Regions from separate parts of the Homo sapiens genome. Here all the other regions are linked to region 1. The links are contacts of gene promoters, found by promoter capture Hi-C in blood cells and fetal thymus (Javierre and others, 2016). All regions are on one chromosome and are shown on one strand. Each heading gives the region's core, a stretch centred on a gene start or on the middle of the fragment in contact. The rest is flanking DNA. Distances are from core to core; before and after follow the strand shown. Region 1 holds the start of CKAP2L (cytoskeleton associated protein 2 like). Region 2 holds the start of PSD4 (pleckstrin and Sec7 domain containing 4). Region 3 has its middle 4.5 kb from the start of TTL.

Region 1 (3,305 bases), core at 443-2,942:
TTCTGAAACTGTTGGTGAAGGAGTCCCTTTCTCAGTCATTAACAAAAATAATGATCAGTTTTCCTATTTTAAACATTTAATACACTATTGAAAATATCAAAATGCATAAATCCAGAAACCCTGGCTCTCTTCCAAACTCCCTATTTACGGCTAAAGAGAAGGGCTGCTGCAGTGGCTTCATGCCCTGCTGAGTACCCAACTGGTAAGCTGAACCTGGCCAACAGGTGCCCAGATATGACTGCCCCTCCACACACGACTTCTCCAGCATCCATGGAAGAGGAACCTTCATACACAAGGAGCCAAAAGCATTTTCCAGACCTCTTTAAGAAACTGGAGAATAGATGAAACAGGACAAACTTCAAAAGAAAAAAAATTTAGGATTAAAACAAGGGGAATGAAGTGTGTCTAGGGATTCAGGACAACGAGGCCTGCGATCTCCTAGTAACTAGGAGAAACTAGGCCTGCGTTTCTCCGTTAGCCTTATGGCCTTATAGTCAGCTGATCAGGTGAAATCGAAAATATACCTTGAACAAGAGATCACCGTGAGAGGAGTAAGGCAGTTTCTCAAAAAATTAAAAATAGAATTGCCGTTTGATCCAACAATACCACTTCGTGGTATATACCCAAAAGAATGAAAAGGAGAGTCTCAAAGAGTTATTTGTGCATTCATGTTCATATTATTATTCACAATAGCCAAAAAGTGGAAGCAACTCAAGTGTCCGGAGAGGGATGGACCAAGAAGCAAAATGTGGCATCTCCACACAACGAAATGCTATTCCCCCTTAAAAGGAAAGGAAATTCTGACACATGCTACACATGGATGAACCTTGAATACTTTATGCTAAGTGAAACAAGCCAGTCACAGAACAAATACTGCATGATTCTACTTATATGGCACCTACAGTTGTCAAATCCATAGAGACAGAAACTAGAATGGTGATTGCCTGGGGCTGGGGGAGGGAGGAGTGCGGAGTTAGTGACGGGTACAGGGTTTCATTTGGGAAGATGAAAAAGTTCTGGAAAGGACAGTAGTGGTGGCTGTGCCACAATGTGAGGGTACTTAATACCACTAAACTGCACATTTTTGAAAAATTTAACACTTTAAAATGGTTAAAATGGTATATGTGATGTTATGCATATTTTACCACAATTAAACGAGCCACCCTGCAGTACTAAGAACTAGGAGCCTTTAGATGCATAAGACCCATATGTCCTCTTTATAATATTATTTTTTCACAGCTCCTGTGAGTCTGAGACTTTGAAAGGACAGAATCAGGTAGCGGCCCCAGCATCCTGGGAGGACCGCCCTGTCTCTCCGCCCAGGGACTCCCGGCGCGCCAACCCCAGCTGGATTCAGCGTAACCGCCCCCCAACCACCAGCCCGGCTGAGGCCCCCACGGAGGGTCCCACGCCCACTCGGAGGCGCACTCACAGGCGCACTCAGAGGCGGGCGGCGCCGCGCCCCGAGGAAGCCGCCCTCAATGCCGAGGTGCGCTGCACGTTCTTCCAATCAAAGGGCCCCAAGGTCGGGTTCTCAAGGCCAGAGCCAACCGCAAAGAGCCTATTGCCTGTTGTCCCGCCCTCCCGTGCTGACGACTAGCGAGTTTCAAACCCGCAGGAGCCAATGAGGACGCGTGGACGCGCGGCACGCCGGTCCTGGCTACAGGCGCGGCGTTTGAAGAAAAACTGTCACTGAAGAGTCATGGTGGGGCCCGGGCCTACCGCTGCTGCCGCTGTCGGTGAGTACGACCGCTGTTCCCGTTATTCTCAGGCGTTGGAACACGGCCGGGGAAGTAGGAGGCCACCGAGTGAGTTCGTCCCGCGGGAGGTGCCCGTCCGCTCGCCTGCCTAAGTTTCCCCTGGGCGTTTTCCATCCCGGGAGCGCAGACGGGACCCCCAGGTAGACGTCTGGGTCCTGGGCGGGGGAGGCTGTGCGCAGGCCCAGATACCTCACGGGCGTATTTCCAGAAAGCCCTGCAGCAGCCTTGCAAAGAGATGTCATTGTCACCACGTTCCGGATAAAGAAACTGAGGCCCCTTGCTCGGGTTTTCACCAGCAGTGGGAAGCTGCGCGCTGTTTTGATCCACATTTGGCTCCAGGCAGAGCCGGGCGTGGTCCTCTGTGCCAGGAGGCGGGGTCTGGCCGAAGCCCGGGTCTCCTGCCTCTGGCGGGGCTCTCACTCCACACCTCTCAGCCTGCGGTGGTTAGAAGTTGATTGGTTAAATCTGCACCCAGGGCTAAGGCTTCTGCGTTCCCTAATCTCTTAGATGTGCTTGGAGCCCTTTCCTACCTTTCAAAATACTCCTGCTCAGATGCCACTTTCTCCAAGATACGCACCGTTGTTTTGTTTCATCCATTATTCCTGTTGATGCCTACGAGGTCCTAGGCACTTTACATAACAAGCTTTAAAGATGGCATTTCTGTCCGCCTTATAGGCTTAGCAGCAGCAAAGTTTGCTAATTTGCTAGAAGTCACGGAGGTGGGACTCCAACCCCCTATGTCAGCCCCTACGCTCTACATTGCCCGCCAAGCTGTCTCTAAGGATAGATACATGAGCATCAGAGAGCAAAACAGGGCAACTCCGTTCAGATGAGGTTAAGAGTCGTTTGGCACCCCTGTCGTCTTTTTGTCTTCCTTCACATCATTATTTACTTTTAACCTTTTCTAGCCACCTACTCCCCTCATTTATGCCCTACCTCTGAACTCCCATACTTCTTTTCGTCTCTTATGGCCCTTAGATTTTACCTTATACTGTAATTGTTGCTGTGTTGATTTTATCTCCACTACTAGTTTGAAAGTTCTTGAAGGCAGAAATTATTGACTTGTCATCCCCTCACAAATGGCTTGCGTAGAAAGTCACCATAGTATAGGTGTCTGCCGTGAGCAGACCGGGCGTATTTTATCCTTAGTACCAACAAAGGAAGCCATATAAGGGTTTGTGGGTAAAAATCATCATCCCTGTAAAAAAACAAAAGACGTAAGACCAGGCCTGGCTCACCAGCTCAGGTGGGCCAGTAACAGAAATTCTTCAAAACAGACTGTTGTAGCTGAGAACAGTGGCTGTGAGCTCCAGGGTTAGAAAAGCCTGTTTTCAAGTCCTGGAATTGCCACATATTAGCTGGGTAACTTTGGGCATGACATTTACTCTCTCTGAATTTCAGATTGCAAAAACTCATTGGATTGTTTTGTGGATTGAAAGCAATAATGTAAATTTAGGCCGAGTGCTTTGACTTACGCCTGTAATCCTAGCACTTTGGGAGGCCAAAGCAGGAGGGTCACTTGAGCTCAGGAATTTGAGACCACCC
Region 2 (3,305 bases), core at 518-3,017, 410 kb before region 1:
AGCCCTGAACCTTCATCCGGAGGGTGCCTGTCTCTGTTTCCCTTTTTGAGCTTCCAGACTCAGCAAGCAAACGCTCCCTCCTTTTACCCTGGAAATGTTTTCCCTCCTATGGAAAAGGTATGAAGGCTTCTGGCCGGTCCAAGGACTTAGGAGGTGACCTGTCCTGTCCCTCTGCAGCCCGAGAAGCTGCCGAATTACAGATGTTGCTGCAGGCAGGAACCATGAGTGGAACTCCCTGGCCTGGAGCTGCAGGACAGAGGCCTCTGTCTGAACCTGGGGTCTGAAGCACCGTGAGAGAAATGACTCGAGAAGGCCCCACATCCTGCCCACACAGAAAGAGCCATCATGCAAATTTGCACGCACACACACACACACAGAGAGAGAGAGAGAGAGAGAAGACAGTGCTACTGAAGGCCTGTGGTGAGGCCAGCAGAGGCTCAGGAAGGGAGCAGAGGATGGCGGTCTGAGGTAGGCAGAGAGTATCCAGGGGAGAGATCACGGGGGTAGGGACAGAATGACAAAGGGGACCCAGTACAGCTGCTGCCTGGGGAGGACAAAGACCCCTAGGGGGCTGGGGCCAGGCTGGGCCTCTCCTCCCTGGGTCCTCTCACCCCACATCCCTCACCCCTTCTGTGGGTCTCTCCCCCTTCCCCAACAAAGAGCTCAGCAGCCTGTGTTCTGATCCCCATGCTAGGCGGTTCCTTGTCTGTAGGAGGAGGGGGCCACGGGATGCTCTAGAGTCCTAGGCAGCTGGGAGACAGGCCTGCTTGGGGACCACTTTTTAAAGCTGGTCCAAGGTCCAATGAACGGAGGAGTATTTATCATCAGCTAATGACAGGCCACCCTTCCCTGCATTCTAGCAGAGGAGTGACTTCAACTGTGGAATTTTAGGCCCTGGAATAAGGGGGGAATGGCAGTGTCAGGGGACTTTCCCTCCATGCAGCTACCTTCACTATAACAATAATGACTACAGTGGGCCTTAGTTTCCTACACAGGCACACTTTGAGAGTTCAGTGGTTCCTGTTGCCCATCAGGACAACAGGCCTAAGCCAGAGCTAAACCAGTAAGGAGGGTCCCCTTACCTCTCCTCGAGCTTCTCCAGGATGGTCCTGGAAGGCAAGATGAAGCTGGGAGCCCCCTGATGGCCAAGTTGACTCTGAGCTCCTGCAGCAACCACACCCAGAGCCACCCCCACCCCAAACCCAGGCCTTCCAGACTCCCTCTCTCCAGAGTCTAGGGTCGAGAATCACTTGGGACCTTTGGCCACAAAAGCCCCCACTGGGTACTCAGCCAGAGCAGTCACTGGGGACGCAGTGACACTCACAAGAGGATTAGCAAGGAGCTTCCTTCACCCTTCACTATTGCAGACCTCCAGAGGCTCTGCGGGGAGCCAGGGAAGGGAAACAACAGAGGTCCGTGGGGCCAGGGCAGGGAATCAGAGAAGGGTCAGATGAGGAGGGGTAGGCTGAGGGAGGAGGGGGACGGGACACAGAGCAGGAAGGGGGAAGGAGGGGCCTAGCCTAGCCCAGGCTCATGGCAGGTGCACACGGCACTGCCAGAGCCCTCGCCTCTCCCCTGCCCACCTGCCCCAGCCCCTGCCACAAGGACCCACATGTGACTCTCCACATTCCCTGCTCCCACAGGTTCCACCAGCCCCAACCTAGGCAGACCCACTTAGCTCACCTCCAAAGGACCCAAGAATGGATGGCTTGGCCTGGGCTCCCCAAGAGCACTTCCTGGCTCACAGTCGGCTTGCCCAGTGAATGTGGCTGTGACGGCTGGAGCTTCCGACTTCCGCTCCTCCTCACCACAACACACACCCCTCCTGCTCCCCGCCGCCTCCCCAGGGTTCCCTAGCTGCTCAACACCTCACACTTCCTGCCCACAAGATAAGAGCCTCTCTTCCTAGGCCCAGCGCCTGCAGCCCCTTTCCCCATGCCCCTGCTCCTTGGAGGCCCCCACCCTGCACACCAGCCTAGAAAGAACCTGCCATGGTGGAACTGGCCTCTCCCTGCCATGCAGGGGCCTGGGATTGAAAGGGGAAGGGGCCGAGGCCTGGTTGGTAAGCAGGCCCCACCTCCTTCCTCCCTGCGCTTCTGCCCCAGGTTCTCAGTCTTGCTCTGGCTCTTGGTCCCCTGCAGGGCACCCAGTGAGAGACAGGAGGGCCCTAAGTTGGGCAATTTCTGGTTTTAAAACAAATGACATTTCAATTTTTGTGTGACTATGTCTCATGTCACTGGTAATAATGCAAATGATACAATTGCCTTTTAGTTACAAAGTTTCTCCCAATAGTACCTCAATCCCTCCTCACACCTACTTTATGAAGCATTAATAACCCCATCATACAGATCCGGATCTGGAGGCAAGCTCAGAGATGCTAAGCCACTGCCCAGGGTTGCACAGCTGGAAAATTACAAAGCTGGGGTTAGAATACAGAGCCTGTGACTATATGAACCAAGGGACCTCCATTCCCCGTGGCTGAATTCCCAACACACGTCCTCAGGACACCGGCCGCAGTGTCCACAAGTGTAAGTGAGGCTGGTGGGGAGCGCAAACACCATGCCATTCTCCTCCCTCCACACAATCTACTTCCTCAACATCAATGACCGTCAACTTCTCTGCTGAGGCTCCACCACTCCCACCCTCCCTGAACTCTCGTCTTCATGATTCCAGCTGACCCAGAGACTCCCTCACTTGCATGTCCACACAGCAGTGGGGACCAGCCACCCTGACCCAGAGTTGAGAGGGTCGGGCTCTAGCTCACCTACAGCCGCACCCCTCCCTGCAGGGTACAGAGTCCACAGGAACATACCAACATGGAGCCCGTGCACCCTGCTTCTCCACCACACTCTGCGTGCCCCAGATCCCGAGACTCTCCACTTCTGGGGCCCAAATGGCCTCCTCCCCATGTGGGCACACAGCACCGCTGCCCTATGCAGCCTGAGACTGGGTGAAGCGCTGGCAAGAGTCCTGATAGCAGAGACGGGAGCAGGTAGAGAGAGCTCAAACCTTTGGGCAGGTCACCCACCCACATGCACGTGTGATACAGAGCAGGGTGGGGAAGAGAAAGGGAGGTGGAGCTGTGGCGTGGGCCAAAGGCTGGGGTGGGCTGTGCTGTGGCAGCAACATTCAGAGGCGGCTAAGAATCCTCCTTCAAACCTGGAGCTCCAGGCCATGATGAAAGTGGGAGGTAGGAGAATTAGGAGAATAGACACTTTTTTTTTTTTTGAGACCAAGTTTCGCTCTTGTTGCCCAGGCTGGAGTACAGTGATGCCATCTAGGCTCACCACAACCTCCACCTCCCA
Region 3 (3,305 bases), core at 425-2,924, 290 kb after region 1:
AGTGCAGTGGTGTGATCTCGGCTCACTGCAAGCTCTGCCTCCCGGGTTCACGCCATTCTCCTGCCTCAGCCTCCCGAGTAGCTGGGACTACAGGCGCCCGCCACTACGCCCGACTAATTTTTTGTATTCTTTTTTTTTTTTTTTTTTTTAGTAGAGACGGGGTTTCACCGTGTTAGCCACGATGGTCTCGATCTCCTGACCTCGTGATCCGCCCGCCTCGGCCTCCCAAAGTGCTGGGATTACAGGCGTGGGCCAAGTACGTATGTTTTTAAAAGAAGACTGAAAATCAATTAAGCTTCCATCTCATGAAACTAGAAAAAGAATAATAAGCAAAACCCAAAGTAAGTAAAAGGAAATAAATCCTAAGGGAAGAAATCAAGGAAGTAGAAAATAAATGTACAATAAAGAAATCAAAGGCAAAGGGGATATATTTTAAAAAATTTAAAATTGTTAAGCATTCAAGACCAACAAATGAAAGGAAGAACAATCAAAGTTAAAATGAAAAAGGTCAGATGCAAGAAGATTTAAAAATATTTTTAAACAAATTTTTTAATGAAAAAAGAAACATCACTAGAGATCCTGAAGGTATTAAAAACAATAAGATCCGGCCAGGCGCGGTGGCTCACGCCTGTCATCCCAGCACTTTGGGAGGCCGAGGCGGGTGGATCACCAGAGGTCGGGAGTTTGAGATCGGCTTGACCAACATGGAGAAACCCTGCCTCTACTAAAAATACAAAAAATCAGCTGGGCGTGGTGGCGCACGCCTGTAATCCCAGCTACTCGGGAGGCTGAGGCAGGAGACGGTCTTGAACCCGGGAGGCGGAGGTTGCCGTGAGCCAAGATCGCGCCACTGCACTCCAGCCTGAGCAACAAGAGCGAAACTCCGTCTCAAAAAAAGAAAGAAAGAAAGAAGATCCTATGATCAATTTTTGCAAATGAATTTGACGTGTGGACAAAATAGACTACTTCCTTGAAAAATCCAGTTTACCAAAAATGACACAGAAATACAAAATCTGAATAATTTCACACCTATTAAAGAGATTGATTCTATTCGCAGATAACATATATGTAGAAAATTCTACCAAAAAAACCCTTAAGGACTACCCACACATACATACCCACGAAATGTTAGAATTAATAAACAAATTAGAATTAATAGAATTAATAAACAAATTCAGCAAACTTTTGGAACAGCCCAAAATAATCCAAGAAAAAATTAAGAAAACAATTTCATTTATAGTACCATCAAATAACCCGTTTATTAAGGGAAAATTTGAAAAAAATAAAACTGTCACTTTTCCCATATGATATGGTTCTATACATAGTGGATCCTGAAGAACCTATACTAATTGAATGAATAACTGAACATTGTAAAGTCACTAGATACAAGGTATATATACAGATATAAATTGTATTTCTGTATGTCAACAACAAAGAAATAGAAAAAAAATTTTTAAAAGATACGATTTACAGTAGCATCAATATAAATGTGAAATAATTAGGAGTATCTAATGAAAGCTGTGCATTGCCTCTACACTGAAAATTACAAAGCATAATCGAGAGAAAATTTAAAAGCATAAAATAAATGAAAGGATGTACCATGTTCATGACTGAAAGACTCAAAATTGTTAAGGTGTCAAATTGATCTATAGATTCAATACAATCCCAAACAAAATCTCTGCAGAGCCATTCATGGAAATTGACAAGGTAATTCAAAAATTTATATAGAAATGCAAGGGACTGGCTGGGCGCGGTGGCTCATGCCTGTAATCCCAGCACTTTGAGAGGCCGAGGCGGGCAAATTGCCCGAGGTTAGGAGTTCGAGACCAGTCTAGGCAACATGGTGAAACCCCAGTTCTACTAAAAGTACAAAAAAATTAGCCGGCCATATGTTTTTTAAAAAAGACTGAAAATCTTTTTAAAGATTTTCATGGTGGCATGATTTTTAAGATTTTTAAGATTTTAAGATTCCATGGTGGCATGCACCTGTAATCCCAGCTACTCGGGAGGCTGAGGCAGGAGAATTACTTGAACTGGGGAGGTAGAGGTTGCAATGAGCTGAAGATTGCGCCATTGCACTCCAGCCTGGGCGACAGAGTGAGACTCCAACTCAAAAAGAAAAAAAAGAAAAAAGAAAAAGAAACTCTGACTCAAAAAGAAAAAAAAAAAAGAATAGCAAAGGTAATCTTTAAGAAAGTTGGAGGATTTACACTACCAGGTATCAAGACCTGACTATCAAAGTTATAGTATGTAAGTACAAAGCTGTAGCAATTAAGGAAGCATGGTTTTAGCATAAGAAGGGAAAAATTAACCAATGTAATAAACAGACCAATGTAACCCATGTAGGGAAAACCCATTTTAAGTTGTTTGGGGGTCTAAGTATAGGACACAAAGAAAAGACATGAAGGGAGGAGTAGTTCAGGATTTTGAGGCTTGCTTTTTAGGAGCACCACTCTTAAGCCCACGTAAGAAAACTTTAGAGGCTCTCACTCCGGCCCTGCTCTAGCCACATTCTTCCCTACAGATGAGACGTTTGTGAGGTCAAGGAGTTAATGGCCACCAGGAGACTGTCACCCTCCCAGTTTCTAGGATGTGCCAGATATCCGGGAACCAGAATTCACTGTCCAGAGATCAAAGCCTATTTCCTGGCCCTGCTCAGGCTTCCTCCCCGGGCCCATGTCCCAAGGGTCAGTGGCACTGCTGGTGTAGGCACCCATAGGCCTGGGCAGTGGCCAAGGGGCGGCTGTTTGTGGGTGAGGAGGAATGGATGCTCAGCTGTGAAGAGCAGTGTCCTCGCTTGAGTTCCTCAAAAAGGTGGCCCTGGAACTCACAATTGCATTGTATGTATGTTATAAACAACCTGATTTATATCAAAGGTGACATTGCAGATGAGTAGGGGCAGAGATGGGCTTACAGATGGAGCTGGGTCAAGGATATCCATATGGAAAACTAAATAAACCTTGACTCCTATCACATGCTATACTCAAAAATCAATTGCAAATGCGTTATGATGGAATACATTTAAAAGTGGAAGGTAAAGCAATAAAGCTTGCTGGGTGGGCAAAGTGACCCATGCCTATAATCCCAGCACTTTGGGAGGTCAGGTGTTAGGATCGCTTAAGCCCAAAAGTTCAAGGCTACAGTGAATTCTGATCGTGCCACTGCACTCCAGCCTGGGCGACAGAGCAAGACCTCATCTTAAAAAAAAAGGACTTTTAGAAGAAAACAGGAGAAAATCTTTATGATCTTACACTAGGTAAATATTTCTTAAGAGGACGCAAAAATCTCTATGAATAAAGTAAAAA

What was found. The method cuts DNA at HindIII sites, captures the fragments that hold promoters and counts their contacts. A CHiCAGO score of 5 or more calls a contact.
Region 2: a contact is called between the fragment with the promoter of PSD4 here and the fragment with the promoter of CKAP2L in region 1, in 2 of 17 cell types (naive CD8 T cells and non-activated CD4 T cells). The highest score is 7.4, in naive CD8 T cells.
Region 3: a fragment that was not itself captured here is called in contact with the fragment with the promoter of CKAP2L in region 1 in 1 of 17 cell types (fetal thymus); the score reaches 6.9 in fetal thymus.

Annotation. Positions count from the first base shown.
Region 1 is chr2:112,762,996-112,766,300 of GRCh38, reverse strand. CKAP2L (cytoskeleton associated protein 2 like) reads left to right here and starts at 1,692. Exons shown (of 9, transcript NM_152515.5): 1 at 1,692-1,739. The coding sequence starts at 1,703. RefSeq lists a silencer at 1,313-1,472 and an enhancer at 1,923-2,062. The HindIII fragment of the contact is 4,243 bases long and covers 1-2,405 here.
Region 2 is chr2:113,172,433-113,175,737 of GRCh38, reverse strand. PSD4 (pleckstrin and Sec7 domain containing 4) reads right to left here and starts at 1,767. Exons shown (of 17, transcript NM_012455.3): 1 at 1,684-1,767. LOC124907872 (a long non-coding RNA gene) reads left to right here. Exons shown (of 2, transcript XR_007087197.1): 1 at 1-468. RefSeq lists enhancers at 1,195-1,284, 1,905-2,074, 2,125-2,194, 2,424-2,924, 2,925-3,305. The HindIII fragment of the contact is 16,060 bases long and covers 1-3,305 here.
Region 3 is chr2:112,475,981-112,479,285 of GRCh38, reverse strand. No RefSeq gene overlaps it. Among named protein-coding and RNA genes, the nearest start is that of TTL, 4.5 kb to the left of the region's middle. The HindIII fragment of the contact is 2,753 bases long and covers 298-3,050 here.